Linked DNA regions of Homo sapiens: region 2 is linked to region 1. Evidence: promoter capture Hi-C in human tissues and cell types (Jung and others, 2019). All regions are on one chromosome and are shown on one strand. Each heading gives the region's core, a stretch centred on a gene start or on the middle of the fragment in contact. The rest is flanking DNA. Distances are from core to core; before and after follow the strand shown.

Region 1 (6,106 bases), core at 1,038-3,537:
ACCCCATCTCTACAAAAACCTTAAAAATTAGCCAGGCATCGTGGGGCACACCTGTAGTCCCCAGCTACTCCAGAGGCTAAGGTGGGAGGATCACTTGAGCCTGAGACATCAAGGCTACAGTGAGCTGTGATTGTGCCACTACACTCCAGCCTGGGTGATAGAGCAAAACCCTGTCTCAAAATAATAATAATAATAATAATAATAATAATAATAATAATAATTTAAAAATAAATACATAACTGAAAAGATTTAATAATGCTGCATAGCTTATATCCATCTCAATCCCTCTCTTTGTCTTTCTCTCATGCTTTTTAAAATTGAAGTAAAACTCCCATAATATAAAATTTATAATTTTAGTCATTTTTGAAGTGTACAATTCAGGGATTTTTAGCATATTCACAATGTTATGCAATCATCACCACTATCTAATTCCAGAACATTTTCACCACTCAAAAAAGAAAGCTCATACCCATTAAGCAGTCCTTCCTCTTTCCCCTCTGCCCCCAGCCCCTGGCAACCACTAACGTACCTTGTCTGTATGTATTGCCTGCCCTGGGCATGTCATATAAATGGAATCATGCCACACGTGGCCTTTTGTGTCTGGCTTCTTTCCCTTTGCATAGTGTTTTCAAGCTTCGTCTACGCTGAAGCAGGTATTAGTACTTCATTTCTTTTTATGGTTGAATACTATTCCATTGTATGGATATACCACAATTTATTAATTCAGCAATTGATGGATATTTGGATTGTTTCTAATTTTTGGCTATTATGAATAGTGCTGCTATGAATGTTCATGCACAAGTTTTTGATTAAACACCTGTTTTCAATTTTGAGGAGTAAATAGAAGTGGAATTGCTGGCTCATATGGTCATTCTTTTAAACTTTTAAACTTTTTAAGCAATTGCCAAAATTTTTTTCTGAAGTTGCTGCATCATTTTTTATTCCCACCAGCAATGTATGAGTGTTCTAATTTCTCCACATTCTCACTAACGTTTATTTTTTGTTTTTAAAAATGTTCTTATAGCCATCCTAGTGGGTGAAAAGTGGCATCTCAAAAAAATAAAAATAAAAAGCATTCTCACGTCAGGTCTTAAGTTTTCTTCTTTTGTATATGAGGCCACAAAATTGAGAGAAATTTTCCCTAAGATGAGCTGAAAGTGAATTTAATGAAATTCTGAACAACAGAGCTGTTTTTCACTGACTCCCATCACACACTTCCCAAAGAGCAACCATGATCAAAGCCAAGGCATCTAAATAATGACTGTTGAAATCCAAGCTCCCAGAGGTACAGATAGTCAGGTGTCTTTAGTCAGTGATTGGCAGAGGCATCTAAGGCATTATATGAGGCTTGGCTAGTAAAATGCTCTTCTGGGATTCTGGGACAATACCCACTCTCTTTTCTTTTAACTTAATGAACATTTATTTTCTCTCCATATGTGCTGTATTTGTAAAGGAAAAATAAATATAACTAAACACCAATTGTACATTCCACTTTAAAGAAGGCAATTTGTTCAGGTAAAATAATGGGTTAAAACAGTTTCAGCCGTATGAAATTTCAAATTCCATCCTAGCACATTCCTCATTAATAATTGCACACATTCCTATGAAAGTCTGTCATTTATTTTAGTCTTTGATTGCTATCATCAACACACTACAGAAGTTATTCTTTCCTGTTCAAGACAATTAGTTTTGGGAACTAAAACACATGCAGTATATGTAAGTGATTACCTGGATAAAGCAACAGGGCATTAGGAAATATACTTTTTTGTTTTTAATTTCTGCATCCATTTCTTCATTCTGGACCGGTACAGATAGCCTCCATGAGGAGTTTAGCCTCTCCTTGGAGTAAACTCTACTGAGAGGAGGAAAACTGAGACTTACAGTACAGCGGGCACAGCCTGGTTGAGGAGAAGGAGAAACTAAGGAAAAACTGGAGACAGCAAAGCTTGAAGGAGGCAGAGCACTAAGCTGCTGCGGGTCACTCTTCCTGTGAACAGGCTAGTTTCAAATAAAGGCTTGCAGGGATCTTACCGAGCAAAGCAACGTTTATGAAAAGGAACAGGGAAGTTGCATGGAGTGTGATTCTTCCTTCCACAGGAACAGTTGGAAAGCCAAAGAGACCCTAGAGTAAGAATGGTGGTAAGTCCCAGGGTTCGTTTAAAATCCTGATAACGGAACATACATTCTTTCTTACGGGAAAACCGTTTTGATTCTTAAATGAAGTCAGTGAGCTTCAGGCTTGCCTACATTGATATCTCCTAATGGTTTGGGCACGTGACCCAGAGCCAGCTCACAAATCAAGCCTCAGAAAGAGCTGACATCCTAGCTCTTCCCGGAAAAACTCGAATGTCGCCCTGCCGTTCCTGGGGTTGGTGACAGGTCTGGTCATCGCACGGCGGCAGCTCCTCACCTGGATTTAGAAGAGCTGGCGTCCCCGCCCGCCCAAGCCTTTAAACTCTCGTCTGCCAGAACCCGCCAACTCTCCAGGGTACAAAGTACAGCAGGGACGCGGGTGGAGCCCTTCCAAGCGGCGCAGCCTTATCTTTCCCGAGTGAACACCTAGGTGGATTCCCAACACCGCGCCTGGCACGTTTCTGGAGGGAGTCTCAAGCTCCTCCAGAGCTCCCAGCTGCGCGTCCTCGTTTCTGCAGTCGATATTCCTGTGGGAGACACGGGGGGCTCTGAGCGCTACGAGCTTTATTAAGAGATTTGCGAATGGTTCACTCAGGTCCCTGAACACTCCCAATAGCCTAAGCTGCCTGCTGTGTTATAGCGCAGAAGCCCCTAACGCACGGTGGTTGTCCTTTCTTCTCATAACGCTCGCAGCTTAGGGCCAGTTTCCGCGATTCTAAGAGTAATTGCGTGGGCACCTGTGCTGGGGCCAGGCGCAAAGAAGGGAGTTGGTCTGCGCGAAGATCGTCAACCTGCTAACAGACCGCACATGCACTTTGCACCGACCATCTACGTCTCAGTCTGGAGGTTGCGCACTTTGGGTAAGGAGGGCCCGGAACTTCCCTGGCGGGTCTGAGCTGCAAGGCAAGCGAGGGTGGGAAGAGGGAATTTAGGGTTCTGGACTGCGGGACGGGAGAGAAGCTGGGGTCTCCAGAGAAAAGGGCAGCAATGGAGGGAAACTGAGATGAACTCCAGACATCCATGTTCATGGATCCGTTTGAGTCTTTGCTTTGGGTAGGAGAGGAGTGGAATGAGACAGAATCTATACCTTTGGTTCCCACCCGCCCTCCAGTAAGGCCGAGGAACTCTCTTGGTTCCTCTGAGAGCAAGAGGCAGATGGTGCTGCGAGGGAACCCCGGAAGGAGCCACTAAAGTTGAGCAGAGTGCAGGACTGGGAAGGAAAAAAATGGGGGGCGGGGGGGACAAGCCACCTATGTGCTCTCCTCCCTTTCTCCACCCCACCCCCTTTTTTCGTAGCTGCTGACGCGCTGGTGGTGCCTATTAATCATTTACCAGTCCAGAGCCGCGCCAGTTAATGGCTGTGCCGTGCGGTGCTCCCACATCCTGGCCTCTCCTCTCCACGGTCGCCTGTGCCCGGGCACCCCGGAGCTGCAAACTGCAGAGCCCAGGCAACCGCTGGGCTGTGCGCCCCGCCGGCGCCGGTAGGAGCCGCGCTCCCCGCAGCGGTTGCGCTCTACCCGGAGGCGCTGGGCGGCTGTGGGCTGCAGGCAAGCGGTCGGGTGGGGAGGGAGGGCGCAGGCGGCGGGTGCGCGAGGAGAAAGCCCCAGCCCTGGCAGCCCCACTGGCCCCCCTCAGCTGGGATGTTCCCCAATGGCACCGCCTCCTCTCCTTCCTCCTCTCCTAGCCCCAGCCCGGGCAGCTGCGGCGAAGGCGGCGGCAGCAGGGGCCCCGGGGCCGGCGCTGCGGACGGCATGGAGGAGCCAGGGCGAAATGCGTCCCAGAACGGGACCTTGAGCGAGGGCCAGGGCAGCGCCATCCTGATCTCTTTCATCTACTCCGTGGTGTGCCTGGTGGGGCTGTGTGGGAACTCTATGGTCATCTACGTGATCCTGCGCTATGCCAAGATGAAGACGGCCACCAACATCTACATCCTAAATCTGGCCATTGCTGATGAGCTGCTCATGCTCAGCGTGCCCTTCCTAGTCACCTCCACGTTGTTGCGCCACTGGCCCTTCGGTGCGCTGCTCTGCCGCCTCGTGCTCAGCGTGGACGCGGTCAACATGTTCACCAGCATCTACTGTCTGACTGTGCTCAGCGTGGACCGCTACGTGGCCGTGGTGCATCCCATCAAGGCGGCCCGCTACCGCCGGCCCACCGTGGCCAAGGTAGTAAACCTGGGCGTGTGGGTGCTATCGCTGCTCGTCATCCTGCCCATCGTGGTCTTCTCTCGCACCGCGGCCAACAGCGACGGCACGGTGGCTTGCAACATGCTCATGCCAGAGCCCGCTCAACGCTGGCTGGTGGGCTTCGTGTTGTACACATTTCTCATGGGCTTCCTGCTGCCCGTGGGGGCTATCTGCCTGTGCTACGTGCTCATCATTGCTAAGATGCGCATGGTGGCCCTCAAGGCCGGCTGGCAGCAGCGCAAGCGCTCGGAGCGCAAGATCACCTTAATGGTGATGATGGTGGTGATGGTGTTTGTCATCTGCTGGATGCCTTTCTACGTGGTGCAGCTGGTCAACGTGTTTGCTGAGCAGGACGACGCCACGGTGAGTCAGCTGTCGGTCATCCTCGGCTATGCCAACAGCTGCGCCAACCCCATCCTCTATGGCTTTCTCTCAGACAACTTCAAGCGCTCTTTCCAACGCATCCTATGCCTCAGCTGGATGGACAACGCCGCGGAGGAGCCGGTTGACTATTACGCCACCGCGCTCAAGAGCCGTGCCTACAGTGTGGAAGACTTCCAACCTGAGAACCTGGAGTCCGGCGGCGTCTTCCGTAATGGCACCTGCACGTCCCGGATCACGACGCTCTGAGCCCGGGCCACGCAGGGGCTCTGAGCCCGGGCCACGCAGGGGCCCTGAGCCAAAAGAGGGGGAGAATGAGAAGGGAAGGCCGGGTGCGAAAGGGACGGTATCCAGGGCGCCAGGGTGCTGTCGGGATAACGTGGGGCTAGGACACTGACAGCCTTTGATGGAGGAACCCAAGAAAGGCGCGCGACAATGGTAGAAGTGAGAGCTTTGCTTATAAACTGGGAAGGCTTTCAGGCTACCTTTTTCTGGGTCTCCCACTTTCTGTTCCTTCCTCCACTGCGCTTACTCCTCTGACCCTCCTTCTATTTTCCCTACCCTGCAACTTCTATCCTTTCTTCCGCACCGTCCCGCCAGTGCAGATCACGAACTCATTAACAACTCATTCTGATCCTCAGCCCCTCCAGTCGTTATTTCTGTTTGTTTAAGCTGAGCCACGGATACCGCCACGGGTTTCCCTCGGCGTTAGTCCCTAGCCGCGCGGGGCCGCTGTCCAGGTTCTGTCTGGTGCCCCTACTGGAGTCCCGGGAATGACCGCTCTCCCTTTGCGCAGCCCTACCTTAAGGAAAGTTGGACTTGAGAAAGATCTAAGCAGCTGGTCTTTTCTCCTACTCTTGGGTGAAGGTGCATCTTTCCCTGCCCTCCCCTGTCCCCCTCTCGCCGCCCGCCCGCCACCACCACTCTCACTCCACCCAGAGTAGAGCCAGGTGCTTAGTAAAATAGGTCCCGCGCTTCGAACTCCAGGCTTTCTGGAGTTCCCACCCAAGCCCTCCTTTGGAGCAAAGAAGGAGCTGAGAACAAGCCGAATGAGGAGTTTTTATAAGATTGCGGGGTCGGAGTGTGGGCGCGTAATAGGAATCACCCTCCTACTGCGCGTTTTCAAAGACCAAGCGCTGGGCGCTCCCGGGCCGCGCGTCTGCGTTAGGCAGGGCAGGGTAGTGCAGGGCACACCTTCCCCGGGGTTCGGGGTTCGGGGTTCGGTTGCAGGGCTGCAGCCCGCCTTGGCTTTCTCCCTCACCCAAGTTTCCGGAGGAGCCGACCTAAAAGTAACAATAGATAAGGTTTCCTGCTCCAGTGTATCTCAAAAGACCGGGCGCCAGGGGCGGGGGACCTAGGGCGACGTCTTCAGAGTCCGCCAGTGTTGGCGGTGTCGCCGCAACCTG
Region 2 (6,106 bases), core at 1,659-4,158, 100 kb before region 1:
TTTACCATTCTGCTAACCTTAGGACCCTTAACAATTATGCTAAATCTACTCTGCTGTGCTCTATCAATAGCGTGACAAAGCCTGGATGACAGCACATATGTTAGGAGCATGGTTAACTGATTATTTTAAGTCCCTTGTTGAGACCTGCTGCTCAGAAAAAAAAATAATTCCTTTCAAAATATTACTGCTCACTGACAATGCACCTTGTCCCCCAGGATCTCTGATGGAGATGTACAAGGAAATTTATCTTGTTTTCATGCCTCCGAACACAATATCCATTCTGCAGCCCATGGATTCAAGGAGTAATTTTGACTTTCAAGTTTTATTATTTAAGAAATACATTTTATAAGGCTACAGCTGCCATAAATAGTAGTTCCTCTGATAGATATAGGAAAAGTAAATTGAAAACCTTCTGGAAAGGATTAATCATTCTAAATGCCATTGAGAATGTTCATGATTTATGAGAGGAGGTCAAAATGTCAACCTTAATAGAAGTTTGGCAAGGACTTCATGTCGAAAACACCAAAAGCAATGGCAACAAAAGCCAAAATTGACAAACGGGATCTAATTAAACTAAAGAGCTTCTGCACAGCAAAAGAAACTACCATCAGAGTGAACAGGCAACCTACAGAATGGGAGAAAATTTTTGCAATCTACTCATCTGACGAAGGGCTAATATCCAGAATCTAGAATGAACTCAAACAAATCTACAAGAAAAAAACCAACAGCCCCATCAAAAAGTGGGCAAAGGATATGAACAGACACTTCTCAAAAGAAGACATTTATGCAGCCAAAAGACACATGAAAAAATGCTCATCATCACTGGCCATCAGAGAAATGCAAATCAAAACCACAATGAGATACCATCTCACACCAGTTAGAATGGCAATCATTAAAAAGTCAGGAAACAAAAGGTGCTGGAGAGGAGGTGGAGAAATAGGAACACTTTTACACTGTTGGTGGGACTGTAAACTAGTTCAACCATTGTGAAAGTCAGTGTGGCTATTCCTCAGGGATCTGGAACTAGAAATACCATCTGACCCAGCCATCTCATTACTGGGTATATACCCAAAGGATTATAAATCATGCTGCTATAAAGACACATGCACACGTATGTTTATTGCGGCACTATTCACAATAGCAAAGACCTGGAACCAACCCAAATGTCCATAAATGATAGACTGGATTAAGAAAATGTGGCACATATACACCATGGAATATTATGCAGCCATAAAAAAGGATGAGTTCATGTCCTTTGTAGGGACATGGATGAAGCTGGAAACCATCATTCTCAGCATACTATTGCAAGGACAAAAAACCAAACACCACATGTTCTCACTCATAGGTGGGAGTTGAACAATGAGAACACATGGACACAGGAAGGGGAACATCGCACACCGGGGACTGTTGTGGGGTGCGGGGAGCAGGGAGGGATAGCATTAGGAGATATTCCTAATGTTAAATGACGAGTTGATGGGTGCAGCACACCAACATGCGCATGTATACATATGTAACTAACCTGCACGTTGTGCACATGTACCCTAAAAGTTAAAGTATAGTAAAAAAAAAAAAAGTTTTGAAAAAGTTGGTTTCAGCCCTAATGGATGACATGAAGGCATTCAAGACTTCAATGGAGAAAGTAACTGCAGAGTGGTGGAAATAGCAAGAGGACCAGAATTAGAAGTGGAGCCTGAATATGTGTCAGAATTGCTTCAATCTCATGATAAAACTTGAATGAATGAAGAGTTGCTTTCTTGCTATGAGCAAAGAAAGTAGTTTCTTGAGATGGAATTTTTCCTGGTGAAGATGCTGTGAATATTGTTGAAATGACAACAAAGGATTTAGAATATTCCATAAAATTAGCTGATAAAGCAGAAACAGGGTTTCAGAAGATAGATTCCAAATTTGAAAGAAGTTCTATTGTGGGTAAAATGCTATCAAACAGTGTCACATGCAACAGAGAAACCTTTCCTGAAAGGTTAAGTCAATTGATGTGTCAAATTTTATTGATGCCTTATGATAAGAAATTGCCACAGCCATCCCAATATTCAGCAACAACCACTACCCCGATCAGTGAGCAGCCATCAACATCAAGACAAGACGCTCTGGGCAACCCTTCTGGGTTCCCATCCACTGCATGGAAGCTTTACTTTCATTTTTACTTTACTTTTGCCTTTGCTTTAATAAATCTTGCAGCTGTACACTTTTTGGGTCTGTGCATTTCTCTACTCGAGCTGTAACACTTGCCACTGTGGCCCACAGCTTCATTCCTTGAAGCCCATGAGACCACGAACCTCTTGATCGAGAAAAACCTTTGATGGAAGAAGACTTCTCGTCTCCTTTCTGGGAGCCCATCTGGGATTTCTCCAAAGTGGTGAGTAACATTGGACCCCTTTCTCTTGCTATTCTTTCTATCTTCTCACTAGAAATTGGAGGAAAACACAGGGCGCCTGTCAGCCATTTAAAAGCAACAAGTGTGGCTGCCAGACTTAAGACGGGTTTGAGGGTTTCTGGGAAAGGGCTCTCTAACAACCCCCAGCCCTCTGGTCTGGGAGCATTGGTTTGCCTGGAACCAGTTCCACCTTTCTCTACCTTTCCTGGGAAAAGCTGAGGGCTGGCTAGAGGTGGAAAACTGTCATCCTGAACTCTTGGCACTGACCTGGTCGAGATCATGGCACAGCAAGAAGCTTCTACTCCACAGCCACCCATGTGTGCATTCCCTGCCTATTCTGACCCACGCCTCCTGGGTCCTAACGTCCTCAGAGAAGACTTTCTTCAGGCCCTATCCTCTAGGATCTTTCCTACCTCTGAGTCTAAGAATATTTTGGCTAGGAGCCTAAGTCGAGTGGGGTGACAATCCAAAGACCCTTGCCCATGGTGCCCCCAGGCTTATTCTTATGCAAATTGGTATCAATATACTTATACAGGACCTGTCCCTCATAACCTATACCCTAGGCACTACGTGGGACATCAAAAGGCATGTCAGTGGCTGATAGAAGGCCTAGGACATTTTTCCTTTTGTTGCCATAAACTTACTCCAGATTGCAGAGGCTACTTTAATTACCACCTTTCCTGTCTGGGATCAGCAATCAGAACTGTAGAACTTCTCCACTTTAAGCAGTCAGACTTATGTGCCAAAAACAATATAATAGACAATAGCTCCCCCGATTCAAGTCCAAAGGTCAATGAATATTCTCAGGAGGGCAAATAGGGGACAGAAAATTTGGGTACGAAAAGCACTGTTCCAACCTTGGTCCTCCAATTTGCCGCTGCCTACCCTAAAAAAAACTTCAGAAGTCTGACTCGTGTGCTGAGAAAAATTTGGAAACTCTATTGAATTTGGCAGCTTTGGTGTTTTATAATAGGGATCAGGAGAAGCAGGTTGAACGAGATAGACGAGACAAGAGAAAGGCCATTGCCTTAGTCACGGCCCTCAGGCAGATGAACTTTGGTGACTCTGAAAGAAAGAAGGGCTGGGCAGGCAACCCACCTAACAGGACTTGATATCAGTGCGGCTCACAGGGGTACTTCAAAAAGGACTGCCCAAACAACAATAAGTCGCACCCTCATCCATGTCGCTTGTGCCAGGGGGAATCACTGGAATGCACACTGCCCCCAAGGGTGAAGGTCCTCTGAGCCAGAGGCCACTAACCAGATGGGCCAACAACAGGACTGAGGGTGCCTGGGGCAGGTGCCAGCCCATGCCATCACCCTCACAGAGCCTCGGGTAAGCTTAACCATTGAAGGTCAGGAAACTAACTTCCTCCTGGACACTGGTGAGGCCTTCTCAGTTTTACTCTTCTGTCCTGGACAACTGTCCTCCAGATCTGTCACCATCAAAGGGGTCCTAGGACAGCCAGTCACTAGGTATTTCTCCCACCCCCTAAGTTGTGACTGGGGAACCTTATTTTTCTCACATGCCTTTCTTATTATGCCTGAGAGCCCTACTTCCTTACTAGGGAGGGACATATTAGCTAAAGCAGGGGTCATTATATACTTAAATATAGGAGAAGGAATACCTGTTTGTGCCCTCTACTCCATGAGGAAGTTAATCCTGAAGTCTGAGCAGAGGAAGGACAATACGGACTAGCAAAAAAATGCTTATCCAGTTCAAGTTAAATTAAAAGATCCTACCTCCTTTCCTTATCAAAGGCAGTACCCCCTCAGACCAGAAGCCCAACAAGGGTTACAAAAGATCGTCAAAGACCTAAAAGCACAGGGACTAGTCACTCACTCCTGCTTGCTAAATTTATTTAATGTCACCCTTACCGAAATTCACAAGGCCTCCAGCCAGAATCCAACTGACTGCTGGATGTGCCTCCCCTTACGCTTTAAACCATATGTCCCAGTTCCTGTTCCCGAACATTGGAATGCCACCAAACTAAGAACAAACACCACAGGCTTGGTGGGCCCTTTAGTCTCAAATCTAGAAATAACACATACACCAAATCTCACGTGTGTAAAGTTTAGCACAACCATTGATGCAGCTGCCTTCCAGTGCAAAACATGAATTACCCTACCTCCACGACTCTCTTGCTTACCATCAGGAATCTTTTTTTTTGTGGTTCCTCAGCTTACCGCTGCTTAAACGGTTTCTTCAAAAGTCTATGCTTTCTCTCCTTTTTGGAGCCCCCTATGACTATCTATACTGATCAGGAGTTACAGAATTTTCTTCTACCCAAATCTTCTACAAATGGGCACAAGTTCTGCCATTCATTATCAGGGCTGGGATACTAGGAGGACTAGGAACCAGCATTGGAGGCATTACCACCTCCCCCCCAGTTCTATTACAAATTATCACAAGAGTTAAATGATGATATGGAATGAGTCGCAGATTTGCTGGTCACCTTACAAAGCCAGCTTAACTCTTTAGCAGCAGTAACCCTTCAAAATCGGAGAGCATTAGATTTATTAACAGCCGAAAGAAGTGGAACTTATCTTTTTCTAGGAGAAAATGCTGCTATTTCGTTAATCAATTCGAAATTGTCACTGGGAAAGTTAAGGAGCTTTGAGACCGGATACAGCGCTGGGCACAAGAGCTCCAAGACACAGGATCTTGGAGTATTGTCAACCAATGGATGTCCTGGCTTCTCCCCTTCTTGGGACCCTTGGTGGCTATTGCGATGTTGCTTATCTTTGGACCCTGCATTTTTAACCTTCCTGTAAAAATTGTCTCTTCCAGAATAGAATCCATAAAACTGCAAATGGTTCTATAAATGGAGCCCCAAATAGCCACCACTAGCATCTACTATCGAGGACCCTTAGACCGACCTGCCAACCTGTTCTCGCACCACAAAACTGAAGACTCCCTTCCCGAGGAAACCTCAACTACAGAGCCCCTTCTACGCCCCAGCAGGAAATAGCTAGAACGATCTTTGCCCAACTTCCCAACAGCACTTGGCCTTTCCTGTTGAGAGAGGGGATGAGGGACTAAGTGGCTAAGTTGGCCAAAATGAGTCATAGCTGCAAGCTAAGGGATTGAAACTTCAACCAATGAAAGGGGACTTTCCCCTAAGCCAAAGTAAGGCATAGCTGCAAGCTAAGGGATTGAAACTTCAACCAATCAAAGGGGACTTTCCCCTAAGCCAAAATGAGTCACAGCTGCAAACTAAGGGATTGAAACTCCAACCAATCATATAGGGAGTTTATGCTCTAGCTGCAGCCTAATGTTTTTAACCAATCAGGCCTGCCAACACTAGCAGATAGAAAATAAGCTAATCCTATAGGACAGAAAAAGGAAAAGGGGAGGAGTCATAAGGGGATATAAGCATAAACATAACACACCCAAGCCAGAAATGGCAACCCCTTCTGGGTACCCTTCCACTGGGTGGAAGCTTTCCTTTCGCTTTCACTTTAATAAATCTTGCCGCCACACACACCCCCACACAAAAGACCCTCCACCAAGAAAAAGATTACAACTCACTGAATAGTCAGATGATTGTTAGCATTATTTAGCAATACAGTGTTTTAAGTTGTGCACATTTTTAAAAACATAATGCTATTGCATACTTAATAGACTACAGCATAGTATAAACATAACTTTTATACGTACTGGGAAACCAAAAAAAAAATTGTGTGACTTATTTTATTGTGATATGTTCTGTAT

Evidence for each region. The method cuts DNA at HindIII sites, captures the fragments that hold promoters and counts their contacts. A contact is called where the count stands out against the background at its distance.
Region 2: a contact is called between a fragment that was not itself captured here and the fragment with the promoter of SSTR1 in region 1, in 2 of the 25 tissues and cell types used here (heart right ventricle and small bowel).

Annotation. Positions count from the first base shown.
Region 1 is chr14:38,205,617-38,211,722 of GRCh38, forward strand. SSTR1 (somatostatin receptor 1) reads left to right here and starts at 2,288. Exons shown (of 3, transcript NM_001049.3): 1 at 2,288-2,488; 2 at 2,827-2,993; 3 at 3,430-6,106. The coding sequence starts at 3,774. The coding sequence ends at 4,949. LOC124903303 (a long non-coding RNA gene) reads right to left here and starts at 3,671. Exons shown (of 2, transcript XR_007064117.1): 1 at 3,466-3,671; 2 at 1,599-2,660. RefSeq lists enhancers at 2,090-2,751, 3,735-4,438, 4,439-5,141. The HindIII fragment of the contact is 11,122 bases long and covers 1,290-6,106 here.
Region 2 is chr14:38,101,874-38,107,979 of GRCh38, forward strand. No RefSeq gene overlaps it. Among named protein-coding and RNA genes, the nearest start is that of SSTR1, 100 kb to the right of the region's middle. The HindIII fragment of the contact is 3,749 bases long and covers 1,035-4,783 here.